Regions from separate parts of the Homo sapiens genome. Here all the other regions are linked to region 1. Evidence: promoter capture Hi-C in 16 types of primary human blood cells and fetal thymus (Javierre and others, 2016). All regions are on one chromosome and are shown on one strand. The core of a region is centred on a gene start or on the middle of the fragment in contact, and the rest is flanking DNA. Distances in the headings are between cores, read along the strand shown. Region 1 holds the start of CHRNA1 (cholinergic receptor nicotinic alpha 1 subunit). Region 2 overlaps ATF2 (activating transcription factor 2). Region 3 overlaps ATF2 (activating transcription factor 2). Region 4 has its middle 61 kb from the start of CHN1. Region 5 has its middle 40 kb from the start of CHN1.

Region 1 (4,161 bases), core at 1,223-3,722:
TATGTAGCAGGAGAACTATGCAGACCAACCCTATGGCCCACTAAGAGGAAGGGGAGGATGACAGAAGCAGACATAATCAGCATTTCAGAGACAGTCACCTCCTCCTTTCCCACCCTAGCCAATAACAAGGTGCCTGTTCCTTCCATAAGGAATTTCTAAGGAAGGAGGGCTTCATTTCTTAGATTGGTTCACTGGTATTCTTTTCTTTTTTCCTCCCCAGCACAGGGTAGAGTGATAGAAAACTCACAGGGCTCAAAGTCAGAACTCTATGATTCTCTTCCCAACTCCCATATGGCCTGGAGAGTTGGATTAGTTCTTCATGGATTCAACGAATCACAGTAAATACTTTTGTAAAAAGGTAGGGTGTAAATAAACAAATATGCAAATAAAAAATTAAATAATGTCAAATTCCCCTTTTTAGCAAGATTATATTTGTAATCTTTATTCAGATGATGGTAACATTAATTTATTCATGAAATATTTGTTGAGCATTTACTGTAAGCAAAGCATTGTTTTGGGAGCTTCGAGATATTCAAAACTGAATCCTTCTTCCTACCCTCATGGAGATTGACATTTGTCATTTACGTAAATAACTGTGAACAAGTTGGAAAGTGATATGCCGTAAGAAAGACGGCAATGAAGTGCTTGAGATTCCAGAGGCAAAGAAAAGAAAAAGTTGAAATGAAAAGTGCTGTATAAATAGAACAGAGATCACGCTGTGTTAAGCTAACACAGGAAAAGAGTCCCTGATATAAATGACAATTTTGTCTACAAAGGACTGATTCTAAGAAGGGAAACTCAACCACAGTTTCAAAGTGTTCCTTTTGTACCACACTGGTTCCATTTGTATTTGTATGTAGGAAATAGCTCCCTGGGCTGGGCAAAAGAAATTTTGAACTGTTACTAGTCCCATGGATCATTATTATCTTAACCTGATTCTGTATCTCTTGCTACCTTTGGCTAGTTCAGGCTGTGTTTTCTGACTGTGCATGTAATAAACCAAGTCTCCAACTGACCACATTCCAAAATGTATAAATTAAGTGACCTTGGGCAGGTCAGCTTTAGTTTCCTTGTAATAAAAAATTGAGGATGTTGGACTGCCTGATCTAGCTCTAAATTTCTATAAAACACCCATGGAAATCAATGCCAGCAAACTCGAGATTTGACCTAAATACATATCACATACTTCTTTAATAGCTAATCATGCATTTTTGGTTAGCAATAACCAAAATCCTAAGAGATCTCTTAAGGATGTTTACATTAAAGCATATCATTTAAGAATTTTCCTGTGACTGTGGTTTTGCGTGCACGCATGTGTGTGCACGCGCGCGCACACACACACACACACACACACACACATCAGGCCAGCTTTGGCTGGACAGAGTCCAAATCCCACATGATATAATTTATCTGAGTTTAGGCTCTTTCACTCAACTCTGATATTGAAAAAAATTAATAATAAAGCTTTTTGCCTCTTGACCAGAAGGCCTGTGTTTTTCAGAGCAATATTGGAAATGAAAAATCACAGGATGTCAGCCACCTTGTTTCTCAGTTGGGATGATATCACCAGTAAACTTTTATGTGAAGCAATCAGCAAACATCTCCTGTTTCCCTCTAGCGGAAGTCTGGGATTCAGGATGGTGTTTCAGCTGCTGTGTTAGGACACATTCCAGAGTAGAATGCAGGTCAAATGCTGTGCAAGGTTTTATAGTTTCAATTCAAACCCAAACCTATATATAGTAACATCTTAAAAAAAAAAAGTAGGTAGGAATGTATTCATATGGAATTTTTTTTAACTTCAGAAATTTTGAAAAAATTAAAAAATATTTGTCTCTGTGGAGAGAGTTTAGTTATGATTATTAACTGGTTTCTATCTCCAGCACATGTAGCTGTCAATCAGTCCTCTTTATTATTAGAATTCTCCTGGAGCAGTAAAGGGACTTGTTAACTCCATTGTATGTGATTATAAGGCACTGTTCTAAGTATCCATAGTTGTTTAAATATGAACCCCCGGACACTACCATGATCCACAAGTGGTCCAGGTCCTACAAATGGTGCCGAGTGTTCAGAGGGATGAGTCGGCTGCCAGGCATGATGGAGGGAGAGACATGCGTGTCTATCTTGAAGTCTTTGACCAGGCAGTTTCTATTTTAATTAGATAAGGCAAACTAAAAATCTTTATCCAAAAACTCAATCAAGCTAACATCAGGAAGAAACTGACAGAGCAGCCCCTGGTTGGGGAGGCTCTGCCATTCTGTGGTCTCATCAAAGAAGCAAGACTTTGATTTGGGGGCCTCCAGCACTTTAGCCTCAAAGGAGAGCCCTCTCCCCACCCCTGACCCCAGCACTTACCTGAGCAAAGGCTAAAGAGCAGGAGGAGAGGCCAGGGCTCCATGGGCTACCGGAGCTTGTGTGGACCAGGGCAGAGTGGTGGCCTGTGCTTCTCACTGGCACTCTGGCTGGGTGCTTGTCTGCTGGAGGGTTTGGAAAGCGAGTCGGCTCACTAGAGCTATTGTTTTACACCACCTGTTTGTGGGAGCGACAGCTGGGCTGCCCTCAGCCCTGGAGCCCAGGGAGTTACTGGGACTGTACACCATTACAGATATGCCTCACTTTACACAATTGCTTACCCTTGACAAGCTGAGTATGAACTGCATTATATTTTAAATGCACCAGTAGTCAGATCTTAATGAAAAAAAAATGTATAGGAAGGAAGGAATTATTTTAAATGGTGAGCAAACTGCCTCTCTTTTGTGTAAACCAGAACCTCATCTCTGTGGGTTGACTTGATTAGGGTCATTTGGTCTGAGTAGATAGTCAGCTGTTTGTCCTAAACCACAAAAATCCACATTCTGCAAACATGGCTTCAGTTTCATTTCCTCTGCTTCAGTGTTAGGCTGAGGGTGCCGGGGGCTTTTCTGACTGCCTGGATTTCAGAAAAGTGTAGCTGGTGTTGAGTCTGCTGCTGGGAAGCCCCCACGTTGATTGGGTTTGGTTTTTAACAAAGACAGCTTCTTCCATAAAACTGGCTTTACTGGCCCCCAGAGTGGCTGTTCCAACCCCTGCCTCTGTATCAGGCAATACCTATCCCACACGAACCATTAGCTGGAGCAAATTGCCCACGTCCTATGCACTGTGATTCAAGCGAAGAGTAATTATTGGGAAAAAGTGTCCCACCGCATCAGCAGTCGTTCCGGGTTCCTGCCTCCTTCCATCCGTCCCTCTGCCTACTCTCACTCAGGGAAGCAAAGAGCAGAGTGGTTCAGCTTTTCAATTATCTTGCTTGAAAAACATCCTAAAAACCAGCAGTTAGTAATTTCTCAGTCTGAGAAGTATTGTTACCCTAGCTGTGCTTCTTTGCAGGGTGTGAGGTGAGTTCCCAGAAGGAGACAGTTACTTAAAGGTACCCTGCCTGTTCCTTCCAGGCCTCCTTCCCACATGGAACTAGGTGAGAAAGGTCCTCTCACCTCAAGCCCACAACAACATCCTGACAGATCCTCTCATTCCAGTGGATCCAAACAAATCATTAGAGAAGGGGCTTGGAGGGTAGAGGAGAGAGCTGCAAGCTCATACTATTTATATTTTTTGTTTAAACTGTGGGAGATCAGTTAACTGTTTGCTAAAAAAAAATTTGGTTCTCTCCCTTCCATGGAATAGCCCCGTGGCAGAAATACAACCCCCACCCTCTGACCAGCCCCTTCCATCTAAATGGAGCCATGGGACTGACCTCTGGCCAGTGGCATGAGTGGAAAAATGTTCTCAGACTCACAAACCTACCAGAGCTCAGCCCCGCCCTTCTAGTCTTCTGACCGGCTAGAATGGACATGGTCCCAAAGTTAACCTTAGAAACCATGTTCTGAAGGTGGTGTTGCTTTTGACATTCTGAATCCTTGAATGACTGCATGGAGGGGGACCCCCTATCCACCTGCTCACCACCCAGCACTATTTCAATGAAAACAAAACATGCATCGTGCTGAGCCATCAAAATCCTTGGGTTTATTTGTACAGCAGCTAGTGTTCCGTAATTAATAAAATATGTAATCCTTTGCACTAGTATCCTGAGGTTAAAAATAAATTCTAAAATATGTAGCACTGCAGCAGAAGGCAAGAAAATTGATACTGGAGGCTGAAAATATGAAGACCCATGTTATATGGTATCAA
Region 2 (4,161 bases), core at 1,160-3,659, 360 kb after region 1:
TTCTGCATTGCCAAATATGCTGTGATATTCCCACCTTAAAATGCAAAACAAAAAAGTTCCACCATCTTCAATCCTACATTGAAGCTATGTATCTCACTTTCCCTTTAGCTACACCTCCAAGAAAGAACTGTCCTATAATGTCTCCATTTCTGGTTCTTCCCATTCTCTCTTCAACCTACTCCAATTACACTGTTGTTACTGCCCCTTCATTGAAAGCTACTCTTATCATAGTCTCTAAATTCAATAGTAAATACTGAATTATCATCTTATCCTATTTAGGATATGACTATATTGTTTCTCTTACTTTGAAATATTTTTTCTAACTTTCAAGATTCAATTTTCCTCACTGGTTGCTACTTCTTAATCTTCTGTGCTACATTCTCCTCCTCTTTCTGACTTTTAAACACCAGAGGTGCCCTAAAGCTTAGCTTTCACCCTTCCATCTATACTATTGTGATACAGAAGTAAAACTAAGCAAATATGGGAATTATGGATAAGACAAAATGTAAGTATTACAAACCTCGACAATGGAAAAAATAAGAGTAATTATCAGACATTAGGGGATAGGGAAGTGGAGGTAGAAAGTATGCATGTTAACTCCTTTAATAGTAGGAAACCTAAAAAAATAATTCCCTAACTTCTTAATGTTTTTCACATATATAGTTAATGTTACAGAGGTCTTTTAACAATTCCTTATGATACACATACACACACAAATTCTAATGTTCAGCAATCAGTTTTTCTTCTGTTTAATTGTAATGCTTTTATTTAAAATGGCATGTGTATTAGTAAGAATTCAATCACAAAACCCATTCTAACTATTTTAAGCAGAAGAGAATCAGGAAAGGGCTTTTTTGAGTCTCCAAGAATGATATCTAGAACATGTCAAAACTAGTCTTTGTCCAAAGGCTGGCCCTAGAAACACATATTGCATTAGCTGTACTTCAGGGATTACAGAATCAAGTTGTTTGTTCACTCCAAGCCAGCAAAATGGATGATTTGAGTAATACTATCTCTCATTCCATTTAACTCAGTACCAAATCCAAAAAGTAAAGTGGGTCAGGCGAAGTGGCTCATGTCTACAATCTCAGCACACTGGGAGGCCAAGGTAGGCAGATGGCTTGAGCCCAGGAGTTTGAGAACAGCCTGGACAACATTGAGAGATCCTGTATCCAAAAAAAAAAACCAAGCAAAAAATTAGTCAGGTGTGGTGGTGAGCACCTGTGGTCCCAGCTACTCTGGAGGCTGAGGTGGGAGGATCACCTGAGCCCAGGAGGTTGAGGCTTCAGTGTGTCATGATCATGCTACTGCACTCCAGCCCGGGTGACAGAGTGAGACCCTGTCTCGAGAAAAAAAAAAAAAAAAGTTAAAGTAAATCTGATTTACCAGAAAGAGTAAATTTGGTTGGTGAAACCTAAAATCATATGCAGAATTCTAGGTGCAAAGAGAACTGTAGTTTTTAGCTCTCTTAACTTTACAGAAAAATATATATGTCAAATATATCTCCAAAACATATGTCAAATTAGCCTATTTCTCTCTCTGTGTCCACTGTTAACACCTAATTCAAACCACCATCATCTCTCACCTGGACTGCTGTCAGCCTCTTGTCTCCCTGTGACCACTCAGCAGTGGCTTTTCACTGCTCAGTGAATAAAACCCAAACACCTTATCATAGGATATGTCTTTTTTTCTGTCTCCTCTGACCTCCTCTCTTAACCTTCTCTCTGTTGGTCATTATATGCTCCAGCCACAGTAGTTGCGTTTCTGTTCTTAAACACACCATACACATTCCCTCCCTAGAGCTTTTACATTTGCTGCTCCTTTAGTCTAGAAACATACAAGGTTTGCTCCTGCATTTTCTTCAGGTCTTTGTTCAAATGTCACCTTAGCAGAGGCACATTCCCTGGTTAACCTATCTAAAATTGCATTAACCCTGATAACTCCTATGTTTACCTCGCTCTACATCATTAAATATCACATAAATCAAAATTACAATGAGATACCATTAAACCCTCACCAGAATGACTAAAACTTAAGAGACTAACCAAAAATATCTTGAAAAATGAGGACTAAATTGGAGAATTTACCCTAACTGACTGGAACACTAACTGTAAAGCTAGAGTAATCAAAATGGTGTGGTACTAGCATAAAAGTTGACAGAGTGATGAATGGAACAGAATATAATGCCCAGAAACAGACCCACACTTACACAATCATTTGATTTTCATTAAAGGAGCCAAAGCAGTTTAATGAGGAAAGAAAAATCTTTTCAGGAAATTATGCTGGGATATCTAAACCCGTATTTTTTAAAAACTTAGCTTCAACTGGCTGGGCGCGGTGGCTCACGCCTATCATCTCAGCACTTTGGGAGGCCGAGGCAGGCGGATCACCTGAGATCAGGAGTTCAAGACCAGCCTGACCAACATGAAGAAACCCCATCTCTACTAAAAATACAAAATTAGCCAGGTGTGGTGGCGCATGCCTGTAATCCAAGCTACTTGGGAGGCTAAGGCAGGAGAATCACTTTAACCTGGGAGGCGGAGATTGTGGTGAGCCGAGATTGTGCCATTGCACTCCTGCCTAGGCAACAAGAGCGAAATTCCGTCTCAAAAAAAAAAAAAAAGTTAGCTTCAACCCCTATCTCACACCATACACAAAAATTAATTCAAGATTAAAGAGAAATCTAAATGAAACAGTAAGTTTTAGAGGAAAACAAAGGAGAATACCTTCATAATCTAAAGGCAAGCAAAAATTTCTGACAAGTCACAGAAAGCAACAACCATAAGAGGAAAAAAATTAATACATTAGGATTCATTAAAATTAGAAACATCTGCTCATCAAAAGATATTATTACGAAAATTAAGATGCAAACCACAGAAAAAGAAGCCTCTGACAAGGACTGGTATCCAGGATATATAAAGAACTCCTACAACTCAATAATAAAAAGACAACCCAATTTTTTAAAATGAGCAAAAGATTTAAAAAGATACTTCACAAAATGTAAGGGATACAAATGGCCAACAAACACATGAAAAAAGCAGCCTGGTAATTTCCTAAAAAGTCAAACATATATCTATCAGATAATCCCATCATTATACTCCCATGTATTCCTCCAAGAGAAATGAAAGCATGTGTCCATAAAAAGACTTGTACACAAGTATTCACATCAGCTTTATTAACAACTAAAAAATAGAAGTAAACCAATATCCATCAGATGAACAGATAAATTGTGAGATAATGAAATATTATATCTCAATGAAAAGGAATTAACTATTGGTAACATAACATGGAGAAATATTGAATTATGTGGAGTGAAAAAACATACATACTATATGATTCCATTTATACAAAATTCTGGAAAATGCAAACAAATCTACAGTAACAGAAGGCAGACCAGTAATTGATGAAGGTAGGTGGGATAAGAGGAATTATAAATAGGCATGAGGAAACTTTTGGGTGATTGTATGTTTACTATCCTGATTGTGCTGATGGTTTTGAGTATACGTGTGTTAAAACTTATCAAATGGTACATTTTAAGTATATACAGTTTATTGTAAGTCAATTATATTTCAATTTAAAATATCAACTAAAGAAAATAAATGAGAAAGAATAATGCTTACTTACATTTATGGTCCGTATATTTAAGTACTTTGTAACTTTGCTATACATTACATTTATTCTTTAATTCTTCCTGTCTATAGTTATTTTAAGATAAGTATAATAGGAATAGATTAATAATTTAGTGGGTTGTTAAAAAAAAACTAAAATATTACTTTCTGAAACTGCTGCCACATGCCCAATATTAAAGACGTTAGGCTTAACAACATTAATACATTAGTGATACTCTAAGAAGTAAATACCAGTTAATTTCATAAAAGTTCAGTAAGCAAAATAATTCTCATATAATATCGATCTGATTTCTAATTAGGCAGTTTATCAATAATTTTCAACCAATAACAGTCAAATTATACTTTTATATCTTGGACTTTTGTGTAGGATTTCCACCTTTCCATTACAAGATATAATGCTCCCCCCCTCCGTATTGGATTATACTTTCTAAAGCTCAGTTGCACTATTGAAGAAAAAGCAGAATTTCTTGCCAAAAGTTTCCTGGGTTTTTTTTCATCCTAACTCTAAAATTTTACAGAATACTGTAAGAAA
Region 3 (4,161 bases), core at 949-3,448, 350 kb after region 1:
ATTTCTTAAAACTGGATTTGTTCCTTTTGAATTAATTTATAGAAAAAAGTCCAATGAATATGTAAAAATACTTTTAGATGCAGTACACAATAACAGGATCTCCTTTTAATATCTATATCTGCTCTATTCAGTTCCCACTGCATGGTAAATTAAATTGAATTTTTCATCAATCAGTATACTAAAATAGGAAGTGCAAAAAATGCCCCTGGTGAAGCTCTTCTGCTATCAAGTGAAGAAGATTCATCTTAGTATTTCCAAAGCTCTGACCTGAACATACTATGATGTGAAAAATTTCCTCCTTGGGTTTTTAGGGTCTTCTCTAACAATCAATAACCACCTAATTTTTATACTCTTCAACCAACTGCTGTTCATTCAGATAATATGTAAGTTTTATTGCTAAAACAGGGTGTCCTGTGCAAATTTCTGACTGATTGTCTGCACTAATGGAGAATAGCAGTAAAAATTTTTCAGGCCGGGTGTGGTGGCTCACGCCTGTAATCCCAACACTTTGGGAGGCTGGGGAGGGGGGATCACGAGGTCAGGAGTTCGAGACCAGTCTGACCAACATGGTGAAAACCCGTCTCTACTAAAAATACAAAAATTAGCCAGGCATGGTGGTGCACACCTGTAATCCCAGCTACTCAGGAGGCTGAGGCAGGAGAATTGCTTGAACCCAGGAGGCGGAGGTTGCAGTGAGCTGAGATTGTGCCACTGTACTCCAGCCTGGGTGAGAGAGCGAGACTCCATCTCAAAAAATAAATAAATAAATAAATTCAGCTCTGCAATATGTTTTAGCATGTAAAAATTTGTATTTAGTATAGTGCCTAGCAAATAACTGAAGCAAATAGAAGGTGTCTAATAACTACTAATCTATTGATTTCCTAAGGATACATTAATTAATTGCTGTTGTTAGCCCTATTATGATATAGAACGTTAACATCTACCCAATTAATCGATGTTATTAATTAACTGACATTATTGTATTATAACACAGCAAGGAGAATTACACTGATTTTTATTTTATTTTATTTTATTTTTGAGATGGAGTTTCACTCTGTCACCCAGGCTGGAGTGCAATAGTGCGATGCTGGCTCACTGCAACCTCGGCCTCCCGGGTTCAAGCAAATTCTTGTGCCTCAGCCACCCGAGTAGCTAGGATTACAGGCATGCACCACCACGCTCGGCTAATTTTTGTATTTTTAGTAGAGATGGGGTTTCACCATGTTGGCCAGGTTGCTCTCGAACTCCTGACCTTAGGTGATCTGCTCACCTCAGCCTCCCAAAGTGCTTGGGATTACAGGTGTGAGCCACTGCGCCCGGCCCTGATTTTCTTTAAAAATAGAATCGTCAGATCTTCTACTAAGAAAATTAGAACGTTTATAGGATTTAGGGTTAAGAAGTACCCCAGAAACCAAAGCTTAATCTTTTTATTTTACAGATGAGGAAATGCAATCTCAGGAAAGTTACAGTTGCTTAATTAAAGGTAGTGAATAGTGGAGTTAGGATTAAAATTAAAATTAAAATACACATCTAAACATTAATTTAATAGCATCCAAACAGCACAACAGAAAAAAATGGTTTTATCATGTTTGCTAACTTGTACACTATTTCAGAATTCTTTTTAATACTGTTAAAACCACTCATCATTATTAGCAGCACTGCCTTCAGATGATCACATCTAGTTTCAGATGTAATACTCCTATTTTCCACTAGGAGGAGAAAAAGCCACAAGAAAAAGCCAGACAAACAACAAGTGACAAGAAACAGAACTTCTAATCTGCCACTAATTTTAAAGTATCACTAACTACTCACTATGCTAAAGGAAGATTTCTTTTTTCAAATTTTGTGGTTTATCTATAGTATAAAACAGTCCGTAACTTTATAAAAATGTGATCTAAATTGTGCATTTGAAGCAGGCTTTAGTGAAAACATTAATTCAAAACAGCCTCAAGCAATGTACAGAACAAATAAAATCTGGCTTACCATTTTTGCTTCTGACTGTACTGGTTGGGGAGAGGAAGGACCTGGGATTCCTGGAACACTAGGCACCATGGTGACTGGTCGAACGAGCTATGCATGACATAAGGAAAAATAATTGCTAGAGAATATATTCAAAATGAGATTTGTACTTTACTGCTGTTGTAATAATTTGAGACTTTAAGAATCAGAACATTGTAAATTTATCACCAGCTGATTTTATCTCTATACCAAATCCTTATTTGGTCTTATATCCTGACTTATCCTTCAAAAGTTGTCAATTTCTGAGACGTGTGCTTTCCTAATTTTCAGTTTCTACAATTTCTTTCTTAATGGTCCCTGTTAGAAATTCATAATATTCAAAGTGATTAATGCAAAAATTCTCAAAGATCTGTCAAACTTCCATTTTGAATATGAAAGGAAGAATGTCAAAACTTGTGACACTTAGGCATAAAAAATAATTTCAACAATGAATTTTGCTTTTCTAAAAATATATACAATGAATTTTCTTATACATACCACATAATAACAAATAACACACTGTAATAATTTCTGAAATAATCTGTAACAGGTTTTACCATTTTGGTTTTTTCCTTTTTTTTCTTAAACCTAACACTGAGTGAACACAGTTACTGTATAAATAAAGCATATCTTTTCTTTCATTTCCGGTTGCTTTCATCACTAGGTACATGTAACAGGATAATCAGAATCTCAAAAACAAGGCAAGAATGTTTCCCTCCTCAAAAAAATATTCTCAGTAAAGAGGAAGCAGATACCTTATATCTGAGTCCTTACAAAGTCTCTCAAATAATGCATTTTGAACAAAGTTCTTTTTAAAGAAGGCACATTATCTTGAAATTACGTCAATCAATGCTAATTTTGGATAGTTTGAAAGATCACGTGGAAGAATTAGTTAATTAAAAAAAGATATAAATATCAAACATTAATCCTAGTAATATTCTTGGGGGTAATCTCACCGAAAGTGTTGGAATGTTACTATAAGTAAGCTTTTAAAAATAAGTTTTATTTTTTATTATTTTTGAGACAAGGTCTTACTTTGTTGCCCAGCCTGGAATGCAGTGGTGCAATCTCGGCTAACTACAGTCTCAACCTCCAGGCTCAAGTGATCCTCCCACCTCAGCCTTCTGAGTAGCTGAGACTACAGGTGCTTCCATCACAACTGGCTAATTTGTGTTTATTTTTTGTAGAGATGGGGTTTTGCCATGTTGCCCAGCCTGGTCTTGAACTCCTGGACTTAGGCAAGCCACCCACCCTGGTCTCCCAAAGTGCTGGGATTACAGGCATGAGCCACTGCACTTGGCCTAAAAATAATTTTTAAAAGCTACACTGTAAATGATTACACTGTACTGATCAGTAACAAGCATCTTAGAAGGTAAAAGAAAAAACTATCTTTTTATTACATAAATAAGTACCTAATGCTTGGTGTAAGATTTCCAGGGAGAGAATAATAGAGAGATTCATAAAGTAATATCGTAAATGATTTAGATGAAAAAGAAAATACTGTGTTCTGGAAACTGTGCTAGATGTCTCAAAAAGTGGTTCTCAGGATGAAAATTTGAATGTCAAAGACATAACTGAAGAGTTTGTTTGAATAAAACTGTTTTATGTAATGTAAGTAAGAAAAAAGCAATTTTCTAACACACATTATTCCAAACAATGTGTTTTTAAATGTTCATTAAACTATTACTTTTTTTTTTTTTTTGACTTGGGGTCTTGCCCTGTCATCCAGGCAGGATCCATAGCTCACTGCAGTCTCAAACGCCTGGGCTCACACAATCCTCCTACCTCAGCCGCCCAATACGCTGGGATTACAACAGGCATGAGTTGCCATGCCTGGCCAAACTATTAAATATCATAAGTAGATAGTTAACTATTTTGTCTACGTCTTTCAAAATTTATATATTTAACACACCCCTCAAAAAACTTTTTTGCGGGGTCTTTTCACAGGGAAAGTGAAAGATTATTTTTCTAGAACATTTACATTTTAACATGCTGGGCTATCAAAGATTCTACAAACCCTACTTGACCACAAAAATTCAGAGTGTGTCTTTATAAACAATTTCCATACTAATAGAAATACCACAGAGTTACCTGACAAGTATTCTAGTACAAATATCTTTCTAAAATTTGAAATCTGTGTTAATATTTGAATGCTACAAGTCC
Region 4 (4,161 bases), core at 652-3,151, 300 kb after region 1:
CAATAGAATAGTTATATTATCTAACTCACTTTATTCAAATTGATGTTATTTAATTAGACACTATGAAAATGAATTTTAATAAGCATACCTCCTAAAAATGGACCTAGGAACTAGCCACATGTTTAAATTACATAGAGATAAAAAACTAGTAGAAAAAAATCATTCAGTAAAATAGGTAATACAGTATTAACGATAATGCAAAGTTGGTTTAAGATAATGGCATTGGCCGGGAGTGGTGGTTCAAGCCTGTAATCCCAGCATTTTATCACTTGAGGTCAGGAGTTCGAGACCAGCCTGGCCAACATAGTGAAACCCCATCTCTACTAAAAATACAAAAATTAGCCAGGTATGGTGGTGCACGCCTGTAATCCCAGCTACTCAGGAGGCTAAGGCAGGAGTATTGCTTGAACCCGGGAGGTGGAGGTTGCAGTGAGCTGAGATCATGTCCAGCCTGGGTAAAGGAGTGAGACTCTGTCACAAAAGAAAAAAGATAATGGCATTCACAAATTTTCTCATTTCCTCATAAACATCATATAATGTATTTGCTTCATGAGAAACTCCTAATAGACAATGCTACCATCTTAAATTCTGCTAAATAAATAACATTAAAAATTTGGGGAGTAGGGGCAGGGCAAGATGGCAGACTAGAAATCTCCACTGATTATCCCCACAGCAAGGGCACCAATTTAACAACTGTCTACACACACACAAAATAAAACACCTTCATAAAAACCAAAAATTAGAAAACAAAACTGACCCAAACTCAGCTGATGCCCGCCCACGAAGGGAGCATTGAAAGCAGCCCTAGCCAGAGGAATCGCCGATCCCAGTGGCCTGAACTTAAGTTCCCAAAAGCCTCACCACCGCAGAGTGAAGTGCTCTGGGGCTCCAGATAACACTTGAAAGGCAGTCTAGGCCACAAGGAATGCAACTCCTAGGCCAATCTTAGTGCTGAACTGGGCCCAGAGACAATGAACAGCAGGGAACACAACCTACTGAGACACAGCCAGGGTGACTGTGTGAGTGCTGGCATCATCCCTTCCCTAACCCCAGGTTGCTCAAAGCTCCAAAACAACCCCATTTCCTCCACTTAAGGAGAGGAGAGGGAAGAGTGGGTAAGACTTTGCCTTGCGTCTTGGATCCCAGCTCAGCTACAGCTAGATAGGGTATTGGTCAGAATCATGAGGCCCCGTTTCCAGGCCCTAGCCCCCAGATACATTTCTAGACATACTCTGGACCAGAAGGGAACATGCTTCCATGAAAGGAAGGACCCAGTCCTGGCAGAATCCTACTAACTGAAGAGCCTTTGGGCCCTGAATAACCAGCAGCGATACTCAGGTACTATGTTGAGGGCCTTCAGTGAGCCTCTTGAAACTTGCTGGCTTCAGGCAAGTACAGCACATTCCCAGCTGTGGTGGCTATGGGGTTATGGGGTGAGATTCCTTCCACTTGAGAAAGTGGATGGAAAAGCAAAGGGGGGGTTTGTCTTCCACCTTAGATACCAGCTCAGCCATAGTGGGGTAGAGCACCAAGTAGGGTCTTGGGGTCCCCAATTCCAGGACGTGGCTCTTGGATGGCATTTCTGGACCTGCCTCAGCCAGAGGGGAGCCCACTGCCCTGAAGGGTGAGTCCCAGGGAAGGCAGCATTCATCACAATCTCACCTAAGAGCCCTTGGCCCTTAAGGGAACATTGGTGGCAGTCTTGAGGTACTCCCTGTGGGCCTGTGGTGGCAATGGCCACTTGGTGAGGCTCTTTTGCCTTTGGAATGGGTAGGGAAGAGTGTGAAGGACTGTGTCTTATGGTTTGAGTGCCAGTTGAGCCACAATACAATAGAACACCAGTCTTGGCAGGTAGACTTCTAACAGTTTTGACTCCAGTCCCTGGCTCCTGGATGGCACCTCTGGACAAGCCCAGGGCCTGGGTGAACTAACTTGCTACCCTGAAGAGAAGGACAGAGGCCTGAATAGCTTTGCCACCTGCTGATTTTAGAGCTCCAGGGCCTTGAGCAAACATAGGTCATAGCCAATGAGAGGTTATAGAAAGGTTGGGTGAGACCTGGTGCTGTGCTAGATTCAGATCTGACCCAGTGCAGTCCTAGTGTTTGTGGCCACAGGAGTGCTTGTGTCACACCACCCCCAGTTCCATATGGCTCAGAACAGAGAGAATGACTCCGTTCACGTAGGAAAAATTAAGAAAACAACAGTCTCCACCTGGTAATCCAGAGAGGTCTTCTGGATCTCATCCAAGAGCATTAAGGCAGTACCTCTACAAGTCTGCAAGAACCACAGCATTACTGGGCTTGGGGTGCCCCCTAAAACAGGTACAGCTTAGATCACAACACTCGAGTCCTTTCAAATATCTTGAAAGTGTTCCCAAAAAGGACAAACAAGCCCAGACTGAGTGTCTACAATAAATACCTAACTCTAAAATGCCCAGACGCTGAAGAACATCTACATGCATCAACGCCATCCAGGAAAACATGACCTCACCAAATGAACTAAAAAAGGCAATAGGGAGCAATCCTGGAGAAACAAAGATATTCTCTGACCTTTCAGAGAATTCAAAATAGCCATGCTTGAGGAAATGCAAAGAAATTCAAGATAACACAGAAAAGGAATTCAGAATTCTATCAGATACATTTAACAAAGAGATTAAAATGATTAAACAGAAACAAGCAGAAATGCTGGAGCTGAAAAATGCAATTGGCATACTGAAGAACACGAGTCTTTTAATAGCAGAAATGATCAAGCAGAAGAAAGAATTAGTGAGCTTAATTTGAAAATACAGAGAGGAGAAAAAAGAAGAAAGATAAAAAACCAATGAGGAATGCCTACAGGATCTAGAAAACAGCCTCAATAGGGCAAATCTAAGAGTTATTGTCCTTATAGAGGAGGTAGAGACAGAGATAGGGGTAGAAAGTTTATTCAGCAGGATAACAGAGAATTTCCTAAACCTGAATAAAAATATCAATATACAAGTAAAAAGATTGAAGCTGTAATAAAGTCTCCCAGTAAAGAAATGCCCAGGGCCTGATGGCTTCACTGTTGAATTCTACCAAATGTTCAAAGAAGAACTAATACCAATCCTACTCAAACTATTCCAAAAAATAGAGAAGGAAATACTTCTAAACTCATTCTATGAGGCCAGTATTACCCTGATACCAAAACTAGACACACATACAACATAAAAAGAAAACTACCAGCCAATATGTCTGATGAATATTGATGCAAAAATCCTCAACAAAATAATAGCAAACCAAATTCAGTAATGTATTAAAAGATCATTCAACATGACCAAGTGGGATTTATTCCTGGGGTGCAAGCATGGTTTAACATATGCAAATCAATCAATGTGATGCATCACATGGACAGAATGAAGGATAAAAACCATATGATCATTTCAATTGATGATGAAAAAGCATTTGATAAAATTCAACATCCCTTCATGATAATAACCCTCAAACAACTGGGTATAGAAGGAACATACTTCAACATAATAAAAGCCATATATGAAAGACCCACAGCCAGTATCATACAGAATGGGGGAAAGCTGAAAGCCTTTTCTCTGAGATCTGGAACATGACAAGGATGCCCACTGTCAACACTGTTATTTAACATAGGACTGGAAGTCCTAGCTAGAGTAATCAGACAAGAAATAAAGAGCATCCAAATTTGAAAGGCAGAAGTCAAATTATCTTTGTCTGCAGATGCTATGATCTTATATTTAATAAAACCTAAAGACTACACCAGAAAATTATTAGGACTGATAAATTTAGTAAAATTGCAGGACACAACATCAACATATAAGAATCAGTAGCATTTCTATATGCCAGCAGTGATGAACAATCTGAAAAGGAAATAAAAAATGTAATACCACTTACAATAACCACAAATAAATACCTAGGAATTAATTTAAGATGTGAAAGATTGCGATATTGAAAACTATCACATGCTGATGCAAGAAATTGAAAAGGACACCAACAAATGGAAAGATATTCTATATTCATAGACTGGAAGAACCAATATTGTTAAAATGTTCATACTACCCAAAGTGATCTACAGATTCAACGCAATCCCTATCAAAATACCAATCACATTCTTCACAGAAATAGAAAAACAATCCTTAAACGTACATGGAAGCACAAAAGACCCAAAATAGCC
Region 5 (4,161 bases), core at 986-3,485, 280 kb after region 1:
GTTTAAGTTCCTTGTAAATTCTGGATATTAGACCTTTGTCAGATTGGTAGATTGCAAAAATTTTCTCCCATTCTGTAGGTTGCCTGTTCACTCTGATGATAGCTTTTTTTGCTGTGCAGAAGCTCTTTAGTTTAATTGGATCCCATTTGTCAATTTTGGCTTTTGTTGCAGTTGCTTTTGGCGTTTTTGTCATGAAGGCTTTGCCCATGCCTATGTCCTGAATGGTATTGCCTAGGATTTTTTTCTAGGATTTTTACGGTTTTGGGTTTTACATTTAAACCTTTAATCCATCTTGAGTTAATTTTTGCATAAGGTGTAAGGAAGGGGTCCAGTTTCAGTTTTCTGCATATGGTTAGCCAGTTTTCCCAGTATCATATACTGAATAGGAGATCCTTTCCCCATTGCTTGTTTTTGTAAGGTTTGTTGAAGATCAGATGGTTGTAGATGTGTGGTGTTACTTCTGAAGTCTCTGTTCTGCTCTGTTGGTCTACATATCTGTTTTGGTACCAGTACCATCCTGGTTTGGTTACTGTTGTCCTGTAGTATAGTTTGAAGTCAGATAGTGTGATGCCCCCAGCTTTGTTCTTTTTGCTTAGGATTGTCTTGGCTATATGGGGTCTTCTTTGATTCCATATAAAATTTAAAATAGTTTTTTTTTAATTCTGCGAAGAATGTCAATGGTTTGATGGAAATGGCATTGAATCCATAAATTACCTTGGGCAATATGGTCGTTTTCATGATATTGATTCTTCCTATCCATGAGGATGGAATCTTTTTCCATTTGTTTGTGTTCTCTCTTATTTCCTTGATCAGTGGTTTGTAGTTCTCCTTGAAGAGGTCCTTCACATCCCTTGTTAGCTGTATTCCTAGGTATTTTATTCTCTTTGTAGCGATTGTGAATGGAAGTTCATTCATGATTTGGCTCTCTGCTTGCCTATTGTTGGTGTAAAGGAATGCTTGTGATTTTTGCACATTGATTTTGTATCCTGAGACTTTGCTGAAGTTGCTTGTCAGTTCAAGGAGTTTTGGGGCTGAGATGATGGGGTTTTCTAAATATAAAATCATGTCATCTGCAAACAGAGACAACTTAACTTCCTCTTTTCCTATTTGAATACTCTTTATGTTGTTCTCTTGCCTGATTGCCCAGGCCAGCGCTTCCAATACTACGTTGAATAGGAGTGGTAAGAGAGGGCATCCTTGTCTTGTACCAGTTTTCAAAGGGAATGCTTCCAGCTTTTACCCATTCAATATGATATTGGCTGTGGGTTTGTCATAAATATCTTATTATTTTGAGATATGTTCCATCTAGTTTATTGAGCGTTTTTAACATGAAGCGATGTTGAATTTTATCAAAGACCTTTTCTGCATCTATTGAGATAATCAAGTGGTTTGTATCTTTGGTTCTGTTTATGTGATAATTACATTTATTGATTTGCATATGTTGAACCAGCCTTGCATCCCAGGGATGAAGCCAACCTGACTGTGGCGGATACATTTTTTGATATGCTACTGGATTCAGTTTGCCAGTATGTTATTAAGGATTTCTGAATCGCTGTTCATCAGCTATTTTGGCCTGAAGTTTTCCTTTTTTTTGTTGTGCCTCTGCCAGGTTTTGTATCAGGATGATGCTGGCTTTATAAAATGAGTTACAGAGGAGTCCCTCCTTTTCAGTTGTTTGGAATGGTTTCAGAAGGAATGGTACCAGCTCCTCTTTGTATTTATGGTAGAATTCAACCATGAATCAGTCTGGTCCTGGACTTTTTTTTGGTTGGTAGGTTATTAATTACTGCCTCAATTTCAGAACTTGTTATTGGTCTATTCAGCATTCAACTTCTTCCTGGTTTAGTCTTGGGAGTGTGTATGTGTCCAGAAATTTATCCATATCTTCTAGATTTTCTAATTTATTTGCACAGAGGTGTTTATAGTATTCTCTGATGGTAGTTTATATTTCTGTGGGGTCAGTGGTTATATCTCCTTTATCATTTTTCATTGTGTCTATTTGATTCTTCTTTTTTTATTAGTCTAGCTAGTGGTTCATCAATTTTGTTGATTTTTTCAAAAAACCAGCTCCTGGATTCATTAACCTTTTGGAAAGTATTTCATGTCTCTATCTCCTTCAGTTCTTCTCGGATCTTAGTTATTTCTTGTCTTCTGCTAGCTTTTGGATTAGTTCGTTCTTGCCTCTCTAGCTCTTTTAATTGTGACATTAGGGTGGTATTTTGAGATTTTTCTAGGTTTCTGATGTAGGCATTTAGTGCTACAAATTTCCCTCTTCTTCTTCCTCCCCTCCCCTCCTCCTTTCTCTCCTCCCATCTCTGGTAACCACTGTTCTACTCTCTGTTTCTATAATATCAATTTTTTTGTTTTAGATTCCACGTGAGTGAGATCACACAGTATTTATCTTTCTATGTCTGGTTTATTTCATTTAACATTGTGTCCTGGTTCATTCATGTTGTCATAAATAACAGTATTTCACTCTTTTTTATGACTGACTAGTATTGTCATATCACATTTTCTTTATCCATTCATCAATGGACAGTTAGGTTGATTCTATGTCTTGACTATTGTGAATAGTGCTGCAACAAGCATGGCAGTGGAGCTATCTCTTCGACATACTGGTTTCATTTCCTTTGGATATATACCCAGTAGTGGGATTGCTGAATCACATGGTCATTCTATTTCTAAATTTTTGAGGAACCCCCATACTGTTTTTTATAATGGCTATACTAGTTTACAATCCCATAAATAATGTGTATGTGTTCCCTTTTTTCCATATCTTTGCCAATACTTGTTTTGTCTTTTTGATAATAGCCATTCTAACTGGGGTGAGGTGGTATCTAATTGTGGATTTTATTTATTAATACATTTCCCTGATTATTAGTGCAGTTGTGCGAACACAGTTCACTCAACCTCATGGGCTCAGGTGATCCTCCCACTTCAGCCTCCTGAGTAGCTGAAACTACAGGTGCATGCCACCACACCCAGCTAGTTTTTGTATTTTTAGTAGAGATGGGGTTTTGCCTTGTGCCCAAGCTGGTCTTGAACAATTGAGCTCAAGCAATCTGCCCACTGTGGCCTCCCAAAGTGCTGGGATTACAGGCATGAGCCACCACACTTGGCCTGTCCCTTCACTGTGTTAATATCTCCCTTTGCTGTGCAAAATCTTTATAGTTTGATGTAATCCCATTTGTCTTTTTTTTGTTTTTTGTTTTTTGTTTTTTTTTGAGATGGAGTCTCACTCTTTCACCCAGGCTGGAGTGCAGTGGTGCAATCTCGGCTCACCACAACCTTCCCTTCGTGGGTTCAAGTGATTCTCCCGCCTCGGCCTCCCGAATAGCTGGGACTACAGGTGCATGTCACCATGCTCGGCTAATGTTGGTATTTTTACTAGAGATGGGGTTTTGCCATGTTGGCCAGGCTTGTCTCAAACTACTGGCCTCAAGTGATATGCCTGCCTCGGCCTCCCAAAGTGCTGGGATTACAGGCATGAGCCACTGCGCCTGGCTGTGAATAATCTTTTTAATGTGCTGTGGATTTGGTTTGCTAATAACTTGTTGAAAATTTTTATGTCAGTGTTCATCAGGGATATTGGTCCATAGTTTTTTATTTTGTTATGTCCTGGTCTAGTTTTGGAAACAGGGTAATTAGAGTAATGTTGGCCTTGTAAAATGAGTTCTCCTCCTCTCCCATTTTCTGGAATAGTTTGAAGAAATGGTATTAGTTCTTCTTTAAATGTTTGGTAGAATTCAGCAGTGAAGCCACTAGGTCCTGGGCTTTTCTTTGATGGGAGGCTTTTTATTACTGATTCAATCTCCTTACTCATTATTGGTGTATTTAGATTGTCTATTTCTCCGTAATTTAATATTGGTTGGTTTTATGTGTCCAGGAATTTATCCATTTCTTCTGTATTATCAAATGTGTTGGTATATAGTTGTTTATAATAGTGTCTTATGATCCTTTTATTTCTAAGATTTTATTTGTTTGAGTCATCTCTTTTTTCTTAGTCTAGTTAAAGATTTGTTGGTTTTATTTGTCTTTTCAAAATACCAACTCCTAGTTTTGTTGATGTTTTTTGTTTTCTTAGGCTCTATTTCACTTATTTCTGCTCTCAGCCTTATTATTTGCTTCTTTCTACCAATTTTGAATTCAGTTTATTCTTCC

Evidence for each region. Contacts are between HindIII fragments. The CHiCAGO score rates a contact against its expected background, and 5 or more counts as called.
Region 2: a fragment that was not itself captured here is called in contact with the fragment with the promoter of CHRNA1 in region 1 in 1 of 17 cell types (total CD4 T cells); the score reaches 5.1 in total CD4 T cells.
Region 3: a fragment that was not itself captured here is called in contact with the fragment with the promoter of CHRNA1 in region 1 in 5 of 17 cell types (naive CD8 T cells, naive CD4 T cells, total CD8 T cells and 2 more); the score reaches 8.0 in naive CD8 T cells.
Region 4: a fragment that was not itself captured here is called in contact with the fragment with the promoter of CHRNA1 in region 1 in 2 of 17 cell types (M1 macrophages and naive CD4 T cells); the score reaches 5.8 in M1 macrophages.
Region 5: a contact is called between a fragment that was not itself captured here and the fragment with the promoter of CHRNA1 in region 1, in 1 of 17 cell types (naive CD8 T cells). The highest score is 7.4, in naive CD8 T cells.

Annotation. Positions count from the first base shown.
Region 1 is chr2:174,762,000-174,766,160 of GRCh38, forward strand. CHRNA1 (cholinergic receptor nicotinic alpha 1 subunit) reads right to left here and starts at 2,473. Exons shown (of 9, transcript NM_000079.4): 1 at 2,353-2,473. The coding sequence starts at 2,395. RefSeq lists a silencer at 1-176 and an enhancer at 2,474-2,973. The HindIII fragment of the contact is 3,214 bases long and covers 1,463-4,161 here.
Region 2 is chr2:175,125,893-175,130,053 of GRCh38, forward strand. The region is part of intron 4 of ATF2 (activating transcription factor 2); the gene reads right to left. Among named protein-coding and RNA genes, the nearest start is that of MIR933, 40 kb to the right of the region's middle. The HindIII fragment of the contact is 3,977 bases long and covers 422-4,161 here.
Region 3 is chr2:175,109,585-175,113,745 of GRCh38, forward strand. ATF2 (activating transcription factor 2) reads right to left here. Exons shown (of 14, transcript NM_001880.4): 10 at 1,984-2,070. Among named protein-coding and RNA genes, the nearest start is that of MIR933, 56 kb to the right of the region's middle. The HindIII fragment of the contact is 1,567 bases long and covers 1,416-2,982 here.
Region 4 is chr2:175,064,084-175,068,244 of GRCh38, forward strand. No RefSeq gene overlaps it. Among named protein-coding and RNA genes, the nearest start is that of CHN1, 61 kb to the left of the region's middle. RefSeq lists a silencer at 1,374-1,606. The HindIII fragment of the contact is 4,524 bases long and covers 1-4,161 here.
Region 5 is chr2:175,042,906-175,047,066 of GRCh38, forward strand. No RefSeq gene overlaps it. Among named protein-coding and RNA genes, the nearest start is that of CHN1, 40 kb to the left of the region's middle. The HindIII fragment of the contact is 6,585 bases long and covers 1-4,161 here.